2 separate regions of the Homo sapiens genome follow, and region 2 is linked to region 1. The links are contacts of gene promoters, found by promoter capture Hi-C in blood cells and fetal thymus (Javierre and others, 2016). All regions are on one chromosome and are shown on one strand. The core of a region is centred on a gene start or on the middle of the fragment in contact, and the rest is flanking DNA. Distances in the headings are between cores, read along the strand shown. Region 1 holds the start of ONECUT1 (one cut homeobox 1). Region 2 overlaps WDR72 (WD repeat domain 72).

The links. The method cuts DNA at HindIII sites, captures the fragments that hold promoters and counts their contacts. A CHiCAGO score of 5 or more calls a contact.
Region 2: a fragment that was not itself captured here is called in contact with the fragment with the promoter of ONECUT1 in region 1 in 1 of 17 cell types (megakaryocytes); the score reaches 7.6 in megakaryocytes.

The regions. Positions count from the first base shown.
Region 1 is chr15:52,786,960-52,791,811 of GRCh38, reverse strand. ONECUT1 (one cut homeobox 1) reads left to right here and starts at 1,476. Exons shown (of 2, transcript NM_004498.4): 1 at 1,476-3,032. The coding sequence starts at 1,928. It overlaps LOC105370824 (a long non-coding RNA gene), which reads right to left and starts at 1,382. Exons shown (of 2, transcript XR_001751550.2): 1 at 1-1,382. RefSeq lists enhancers at 1-420, 421-1,189, 1,186-1,480 and a silencer at 1,369-1,438. The HindIII fragment of the contact is 8,870 bases long and covers 1,019-4,852 here.
Region 2 is chr15:53,709,567-53,714,446 of GRCh38, reverse strand. It overlaps WDR72 (WD repeat domain 72), which reads left to right. Exons shown (of 20, transcript NM_182758.4): 6 at 1-13; 7 at 1,556-1,675; 8 at 2,966-3,111; 9 at 3,494-3,590. Among named protein-coding and RNA genes, the nearest start is that of WDR72, 48 kb to the left of the region's middle. The HindIII fragment of the contact is 5,149 bases long and covers 1-4,880 here.

The DNA.
Region 1 (4,852 bases), core at 227-2,726:
AGTGGAAACACCACGGGTGGGCTGCAGTTCGGTGCCCCAGCAAGCAAACCTACAGTCTGAGTCTGGCCCAGCACAGGCTACACACACTTTATTCCATATCTGAGTCCAGATACCCCGGCTCTGAGAGGCTATTCTCATTGTAACCACCGCTTGCCTGGGGCTGAGGCTCGGCGCTGACCCGGCCATAACTGCCACGGGCTGGACAATGGGCACATCTGTCCTTTCTCTGAGGGATGAAAGCACCTAAGCGGACACGGCTCTGCCTTTTGTTGCGGATTTTTTTTCTTTCTTTTGTAAATGAAAGAAAGCCGCGGCATGTGGCGGCCGGGTGTACGTCTCAAACTGGGGGCCTCCGCACACGTCCCCACCAGGCCCAAAGACCAGGTTCGATTCCAGATTGGAGCGTGACTGTGGGAAGGGCGAAATTACTCCCGAAGCTGAATTGATTTTCAAATCTGGAGGCGTCTCTCGGGGACGCCGGGAAAAGGGCGTCCCTAGGGGCCAAGCGGAGACCCGCGCGCCGGCGTCCACCCTGTCTGCGTCAGTACTTCTGGAAAGCAACCGCCTCCGGGTGCTTTAGCAGGAGGGCCTTGGGAGTAACCGCAGGGACGGCCCGAGCCTCCACGGCCCCACCAGCACCCGGAAGTTAACATGGGTACCCTCCAGGGCACTCCCTCCGCTCTCCCTCGCCCCCCTCCACAGGCCGAGTCATCGGCGAAGCGGACGCACAGCCTTAATTATGAGCTGAGCGGGAGAAGGAGCCAGGCGGCGGGGGACAGTGAGGTATGGCCCGAACTGGGATTCTTGGCACTGATTACTCCTCTCCCCAGGGCATGGATGAGAAAGGGTGGGCAAGTATGTATCTGGGAGGACGAAGGGTGCCGGGTCAACGGCCGCCAAACGGACCCAGCCCTTTAAGCAATCTGCACCCCACCCCACCCCAACCCCCATCCCCCAATAGGCCGTGAATTCAAGGGTGGGAAAGCGCACTCCCAGCAGCCCCCCGGGAAATAAAGCTTAGTGGGCTAGAGCCGAAGGGGTGATGACACAGTCCCCAGCTCCCCGGGCAAGCTGCACCGGGAAGCAGCAACTGGAGAGAGAGGGGCGATGTCTCCAAGCACAGCACTCCAGCCGCTAGAAGCCCGACACGAGCGTCCCCGGGCTGGGAGGACAGAGCCCACTCAAGCAAGGGAGGCGAGCGAGCCAGGCGCGAGTCTCCTGGGATTGCAGCGGCGGCCCCAGGTCGCGCTCTGCGCCAATCTTTCGCACGTGCCCGCAGCTCCCTGGCCATCCAGCGCCGCAGGGAAGGCGCTGGGCCCCCTCCTTCATTTGTACCGGGACGCCAAGGGCCTGGCGCGCCGCGACCTAGGGGGCGGGGGCGGGCCTCGCGCATGCGCGCTGCGCCTGGCGGGCGTGAGGGCGGGCCGCTGCGGCGGCGGCGGCGGCGGCTACCGAACCGCGGCCACAGAGTCTGTAACAGTAACAGAGCCATGGCTCAAGCTGGCCAGCGGGGCGGGCAGGCAGCAGACGCGGCAGGCGCGCGGGCCGCGGCAGGGGAGCCGGAGACCTCAGAATTTTAAGAAAGAGAGGGGCGAGAGGTGGCCGAGGCGGGCGGGCTGGGGCACTGCGCTCTCCCAACGGCGCGGATCCTCTTTGGAAATTAATATTAAAAAAAAAAAAGCCGAGGACGCAGAGGGGAAGGTGGGGGGTAAGAGGGAAGGCGAGACACACACACACACACACACGCACACGCACACACGGACACACACACACGGAGAGAGAGAGAGAGAGAGACAGAGCCCCACAGTGAGAGGAAGGAAGGCAACAGTCGCCAGCAGCCGATGTGAAGACCGGACTCCGTGCGCCCCTCGCCGCCTCTGCCTGGCCACATCGATGTTGTGTCCGCCGCCTGCTCGCCCGGATCACGATGAACGCGCAGCTGACCATGGAAGCGATCGGCGAGCTGCACGGGGTGAGCCATGAGCCGGTGCCCGCCCCTGCCGACCTGCTGGGCGGCAGCCCCCACGCGCGCAGCTCCGTGGCGCACCGCGGCAGCCACCTGCCCCCCGCGCACCCGCGCTCCATGGGCATGGCGTCCCTGCTGGACGGCGGCAGCGGCGGCGGAGATTACCACCACCACCACCGGGCCCCTGAGCACAGCCTGGCCGGCCCCCTGCATCCCACCATGACCATGGCCTGCGAGACTCCCCCAGGTATGAGCATGCCCACCACCTACACCACCTTGACCCCTCTGCAGCCGCTGCCTCCCATCTCCACAGTCTCGGACAAGTTCCCCCACCATCACCACCACCACCATCACCACCACCACCCGCACCACCACCAGCGCCTGGCGGGCAACGTGAGCGGTAGCTTCACGCTCATGCGGGATGAGCGCGGGCTGGCCTCCATGAATAACCTCTATACCCCCTACCACAAGGACGTGGCCGGCATGGGCCAGAGCCTCTCGCCCCTCTCCAGCTCCGGTCTGGGCAGCATCCACAACTCCCAGCAAGGGCTCCCCCACTATGCCCACCCGGGGGCCGCCATGCCCACCGACAAGATGCTCACCCCCAACGGCTTCGAAGCCCACCACCCGGCCATGCTCGGCCGCCACGGGGAGCAGCACCTCACGCCCACCTCGGCCGGCATGGTGCCCATCAACGGCCTTCCTCCGCACCATCCCCACGCCCACCTGAACGCCCAGGGCCACGGGCAACTCCTGGGCACAGCCCGGGAGCCCAACCCTTCGGTGACCGGCGCGCAGGTCAGCAATGGAAGTAATTCAGGGCAGATGGAAGAGATCAATACCAAAGAGGTGGCGCAGCGTATCACCACCGAGCTCAAGCGCTACAGCATCCCACAGGCCATCTTCGCGCAGAGGGTGCTCTGCCGCTCCCAGGGGACCCTCTCGGACCTGCTGCGCAACCCCAAACCCTGGAGCAAACTCAAATCCGGCCGGGAGACCTTCCGGAGGATGTGGAAGTGGCTGCAGGAGCCGGAGTTCCAGCGCATGTCCGCGCTCCGCTTAGCAGGTGAGCCGGCCAAGGAGCTGGGCGCGCGGGAGATAAGGTACACGAAAGCCGAAGGGACCAAAGGAGGAAGGGTAGGAGAGAGGGCTGGGTGCGCTTCATCCCGCCCGCCCCTACCCCTAGAAGGGGGACTCCCTGTGCCTGGAAGGGCCAGCACAGGGCTGTGGGAGCAAATTGCCTACTCCAGGGCTCAGGGTGTTGGGCTGTGGAAGGCTCCGAGAGCTAAGCGGCCGGGCCTCGGCGACTGAAGAGGCTCATTTGCGCTCAGGGACAGCGAGGGAAGCTCGTACGGCCTGAGGCGGAGAGAAATCCCCGCACCTGGTGAGACACTCTGCGCCACCTCTCAGTTCAGCGATCCGGGTTTGGGAAGAGGGATGCAACGCGTGCGTGGAATCGCACGCAAATGTTCCTCGCAGGTACCTCTGACACATCCCAGGCGCTGGGCTGGAGCGTGCCGGAGCAGCGTCGATGTTTGGCCGAACTGGCTGCTGTGACCCCCTCCCGCGCTCATTCTTTTGGCGCTGGCTGGGGTGACCTCAATCTAAGAGTATGGGCAAAAAGTTTCAGAGCCATTGGGCGGTGGGTGTGTAGCACAGACGAGTTGTAAGGGTTAGGACGCTCTCTGCGCATGGAATTGGCTGTGGAAAGGAGAGGGAGGCTGACCGTCCCAAGGTCCCAGTGAGAGCTGCAAAGCAATAGCCATGTCCTGGGACCGACTCCGCTGCCGACTCCCTGAGGACTTTGCATTTTGTTTTATTATTCCTCTTCGCGATTTTCGTCTGAATCCCCGTGCGGGAGGGGGGTTTGGGGATGAGAGTGTGTAAATGACCCCCAAGTCTAGGAGCAGAGGTCTCCTGCCCGAAACCCCAAGCCCCAGGTGTTTCTGAGTTCAGCTGGAAGCTCTCCTTGGCGCAGCGCAGACACCGCGCCTGGCTCCCCGAGACCGCGGATAGGCAGAGAAGAAAGCTGAGCCCAGCCCGAACCCCACCGGGGATTTCAGGAGGATTCGGCGACCCTTGAGGGTAGAGAACATGAGGGGAGGTAGAGCTAAGGACAGCGGAGGGTGGCCTGGGTTTGATGAGATCCGGCCGGCGGTTGCCAAGTTGATTGACTCCTGGTCCATGCCCCCTCCCCCCCCACTCCCCCACCCCCCACCTCCACCTCCATCTCAGCCCAGCGCCCAGGCCTGAGCCTTGGCGAAGAGAAAAGGTAAAAGCCGGAATGAGGGTTTGTTAATTAACTGATCGTTCTCCATTAATTCGTCCCTGGAGAACGAGAGACAGTCAATCCGCTCTGAGCCGGGGGCACTGAGCCGTTTCACAGTCTAAAATCAAAGCGTGAGGCCAAAGCCCCCTCCTCCAACTCGTGCCTGCCAATGAGAAGCTGGGGGTGGCAGGTGCCGACCAGCCTGCGATTCGTGCCCCGAAGCGACCCAAAGCGTTCTTTGGGTTTGGGCGCTGCAGGCCACCGGTCCCAAAGCACCGCGCTGGCTGAGACTCTGCCCTGCCAGGTTTTCCAGCCCAGCTCTGCCTTCGTTCGCCCCAGGCAAAGTCCTCATGCAGGTTCCTGCAGCCTGCGCCCGGGAACCAGTCAGGGGAGAAGAGGCTCGCTGGGCGCCCCAGCGAATCGCTGGCCCCCGGTTTTCCACTCTCTAGCTCTTGTGCTACCGGCACCATATCTCCACCCGTGGGCTGCCCGCGAGCAACTGAGGTTCCGGAGGGAGTGGGCGAAGGGGCTGCTCCTCGTCCTGACTGCTCCGTCTCTCCAGAGCCCAAGGTAGTGCCTTTTCACACACCCACACCACCCCAGAGCCAGGCTTCAGG
Region 2 (4,880 bases), core at 1,235-3,734, 920 kb before region 1:
CAACAGCATTCAGGTTGGCTTGGGAACCCTACTCTTTTTTCCTTACAATTTCAAGCATATTCATTAAAATTTATAAATTTTAAGGCTATTACATGTTTATTGTCAAAAGTTCAAATAACATAGAAGTGTATAAATTCTACTTCCATATATTTCCCCCATCCATCTTCCCAGGGGTGAGCCTTGGTACACTTGGCTTGTATCCTTCCAACCTTTTCTCCATGTATATACAAATGTTTTCATTTACACACACACACACACACACACAGAAAGATTACATTTTTAATCTTTTAAAAAATAGAACATCTCTCTGTTCGTTACAGAGGAAATCCCCCTTTTTTCTGAGTATATGTGAACAGTGGCAAGCAAATGACCCTAAAAACTTGAGGGGCATGTCCCTGGGGAGTCCAGTATATTCATCTATTCACTGGCATCAGGCTACAAGTTGAGATGATGGACAAAAGAACAGCCATACTATGTGTGTTGATGACAAAATTATTTAGGCTTCCCCAAGGAGTTCTGGGGTCTTTTTAGGAATTTATTGGTTGAGGAAGCCTAGGAATTGTGATGGTATGCTGAGCTTAAGAAATACACATCCAGCATTTTCACAAACTTATTGAGAACGTACTATTCTATGTGCTGTGTGTTGGCACTTTGTTCATTTTTTTTCTGTTTAAGCAATCAAAATACTAGGCCATGCACAGTGGCTCACGCCTGTAATCCCAGCACTTTGGGAGGCTAAGGCGAGCGGATCACCAGAGGTCAGGAGTTCAAGACTAGCCTGTCCAACATGGTGAAACCTCGTCTCTACTAAAAATACAAAAAAAAAAATTTAGCAGGGAGTGGTGGAGTGCACCTGTAATCCTAGCTACTCAGGAGGCTGAGGCAGGAGAATCGTTTGAACCCGGGAGGCGGGGGTTGCAGTGAGCCGAGATCCTGCCACTGCACTCCATCCTTGGCGACACAGCAAGACTGTGTCTCAAGGAAAAAATAAAATAAAATAAAATAAAATAAAATAAAATAAAATAAAATAAAATACAACAAAATAAAATAAAATAAAATACTGTAGGTTTTTTTAGTCATCATTTTAGATTTTTTTGTTTGACCTTTCTGCCATATCTAACAGTCTGTAGCTTATTCTCATCTTGACATTCTCAGCATCCAGCCGTAGTTCCCCAAAGAATGTTTGTTGAATGGTTGCATGTAATGAGCCCTTGAATCTAAGTGGATTTCCTGATCACAGCTTTTTTTTTTTTTCAAGAAATACATCCTATATTTTTTAATTTTTTTTTTTTTAAACTTTCAGGAGTACATACGCAGGTTTGTTATACAGGTAAATTAAGTGTTGTGGGGGTTGGGTGTACAGATTATTTCATCACCCAGGTACACAGCTTCTATTGCCAAGTAACTTCTTAGTTCAAAACACTCAAAAGGTAACTCAGATACTTTTCGTTTTATAATGGTGTGATCTACTTGAGATGTACGGGAAGCAGGTCTTCTCATGGCTGTGTATGAATTACCTGGAACTAGTACTAAAAGATTTTCTTTCCTTTTGAAGGAAAAGCAAGATGTCTATGAAAAAGAATCCAAGTTTCTTGAGTCCTTGAACTGCCAGACAATTCGATTTTGCACATATACTGAGAGACTTCTATTGGTGGTATTTTCTAAATGTTGGAAGGTATTATAAAGTAACATAATAAATACCAGTGATGTACAAGTGTAATTTTTTTTGTTTTGTACAAAAATAAGAATATGATTTAAATATGATACAAATTCTCTGTAATAGTATTACCAGAACATGGAATGATGTGTCTTTTATGACTGACGTAACAGTTTTTTTTTTTGGCGGTGGGGTGGTTGACAGTCTCACTCTGTTTCCCAGGCTGGAGTGCAGCGGCACGATCTCAGCTCACTGCAACCTCCACCCCCCAGGTTCAAGCAGTTCTCCTGCCTCAGCCTCCTAGTAGCTGGGATTATAGGCGCATGCCACCATGCCCGGCTAAGTTTTGTATTTTTAGGAGAGACCGGGTTTCACCATGTTGGTCAGGCCGATCTCAAACTCCTGACCTCGTGATCTGCCCACCTCAGACTCCCAAAGTGCTGGGATTACAGGCGTGAGCCACTGGACACGGCCTGACATATCAGTTTTTAACTCTCTAATTAATAAAATTAGGATATACTACTACATATTTAATATCATGGTATATGCAACAGTTTTGTATCCCAAGATATTATATATGTAGTAGCATATCCTAATTTTAGTAACAAACCATAATAACAATGAATATTTAGCTCTAAATTGTTTTCAAAATTTGGTGTTTACATTTCAGAACTAAAAATATACTTTTCACCTACATAGTTTGATTATATTTTTAGATGTTTTACTTTTTCTACTTTGTCACTACATTTGTTTTAAGAGGGACAAACGTTATTTTCTTGTGAATATGTTCGCTGACATTTCCAAGAAGAAAGAAAAGCTAAGTTGCCATCATTTCATAACATTTATTTTTCTTTAAAGTTTTTTATAACTGGCTCAGTTAACAAAACTATACAGTCTTACTTGTGTGGTGATAATGTATTTTTGAACAAAGATTTAAAAGTATATGGTCTAGCAAAAGATTTACGTGATATATATTTTTTATGTGCATAATACATTTTCAAATGTAAAACTTGGAGTACTCATTATGGAAAGAATAAAATTACTTAGAAATTTTGGGATTTGGGGTTTCTATGTTTAGTGTACACACTCTGGAATGATATAACCAGATGAACTGTATCCCCTGAAACCTACCCTAAGATAAATATAAGTCAATAAGTCATGGTAAAATATCATCTTAATATGAGAGTACAGTATGGTCTGTTATTAACGCTTACTATGTTGTTATATTATTACTATCATAATTTATATTCATCTTATTGGCAGACTAGATTTAAGCCTTTGATAATGTGCATCAACTTCATATTTTAGGTTTATGATTATTGTGATTTTTCCCTTCTGCTGACTGAAGTTAGTAGAAATGGGCAGTTCTTTGCTGGTGGAGAAGTGATTGCTGCTCACAGAATCCTCATCTGGACAGAAGATGGTCACAGTTACATCTATCAGCTGCTGAACAGGTGGGCTCAGATGGGAGCGGCATACAAAACATTCAGGTAGAAAATGAACTTTGGGAGGTTTATTATGGAAAAATCCCTGCATGCTGCCCATGATCAAAAACCAGAACAAAACAACTTTGGCACTAGAAGATTTACTCTGGGCTTGGTAGGCTTCAGCCTTTGTACAAAACAGCAGGGGATGGAGGAATGAGATTAACCATGTATAACTTGTACAGCTGGTGCTGGGTTTTCAAAAAGTCACTTGTAATTATTAACCCAACAATTTCTAACTAGAGTTTAGAAACTTGAACGGTACCATCCGGCTTTTGAAAGTGGGAGGGGGAAAAAAAACGAATAAAGAACCTCAAAGTTCTAAACTTTGCTTTTTATTTTTGCCACGCAGTGGGCTTTCAAAAAGCATATACCCTGCTGATGGAAGAGTGCTTAAAGAGACCATTTATCCTCATTTACTGTGCTCTACTTCTGTGCAGGAAAATAAGGTAATGCAAGAAAAGAGTGACTGCCTCAAAGCTGTTTCACTCAGTTTCTTGGATAAGTGTTGCTTTGTCTGTCACAGAATCAGGCTTGAAAAAATTGAATTGAAGCATCCCATCAAGTTGTTAATGAGAAAATCAAGTTTAATTATCAATGGCTACCAAAGAGAAAACTTTGTCTTTAAAAATCTGCTATGTTTAAGTCTGTATTTTAAGTTTATAATGAAACAATATGTATTTATTATAGGAAAATTATAAATGTTAAAAAGAAAGGAGAAATTAAAATTCCTAATTTCACCGCAGTACATATTCACTGAGATTTTTTTTTACTTTGTTGTATGTATTTACCTATTTTGATTGGAAAATTTTCAAATAATTGGAAAAGTTTCAAGAGTAGTGTAGTAATTATTCATATACGTTTTACTTAGATTCACCAATTGCTAACATTTTGCTATATTTACTTTCTCATTCTCTGTCTCTCTCTCTGCATTTGTGTGTGTGTGTGTGTATACGTACAAACACATACACACACACCACACATTTTTTCACTGACCCTTGTGATAAATGGTGTGACAAAACATTGTTAACATTTTTACGTATCTACTCCAATTTTTAAACTTTATGAAATGTTTTATGTTCTGTTTCTTTAATCATATATTGATATCATTTTCAGATGTATTTAGCTATTCTTACGAATAAATTTTCTTGTTAAAACAAATATAATTATGCTTTTGGCAGAGAGTTGAGAATATAAATGTGAGCTTATTACTTGACTGAATCATACCTCTGACATTCTAGGAAGCCTGAAAATTTAAGCAGTTGTTTTCTTTCAGTAGTGTTATCCAAAGTGTTTCTTTTCCCTGAGCCTTTGGACTTTGTCATCAGTTAATTATCCATAAACGTTATTTCATGGAGAGTGGAAGAGTTTTGAATTATTGATGTGTCAACCAAGGAAGCATGCTACTTTTAACAGAATGATGGTTTGCTTAATTAGGCAGCATAGCTGTTGGAAATCCTATAGTTCAGTGATTGTCCCTTTAACATATCTGTGAGGTTTTGTTGTGAAAACTTGATTAAGAAACTGTCAGCCAAAAATTAGAACCCCAAGTGCCACTGGGACACAAGCAAACTTTATAATTACGGCATGCATCAACCACTATTTCTAAAATTATTTGTGGGCAGTAATAGGTTCCTGTTTTGCTGTCGATCACAAAAACAGTATTGGGGCTTACTCAGAAAAGCATATTCAGTTATTTTTTAAAGGATCTGGTCTTTCCTCCTTAGCTTTGAATGCAT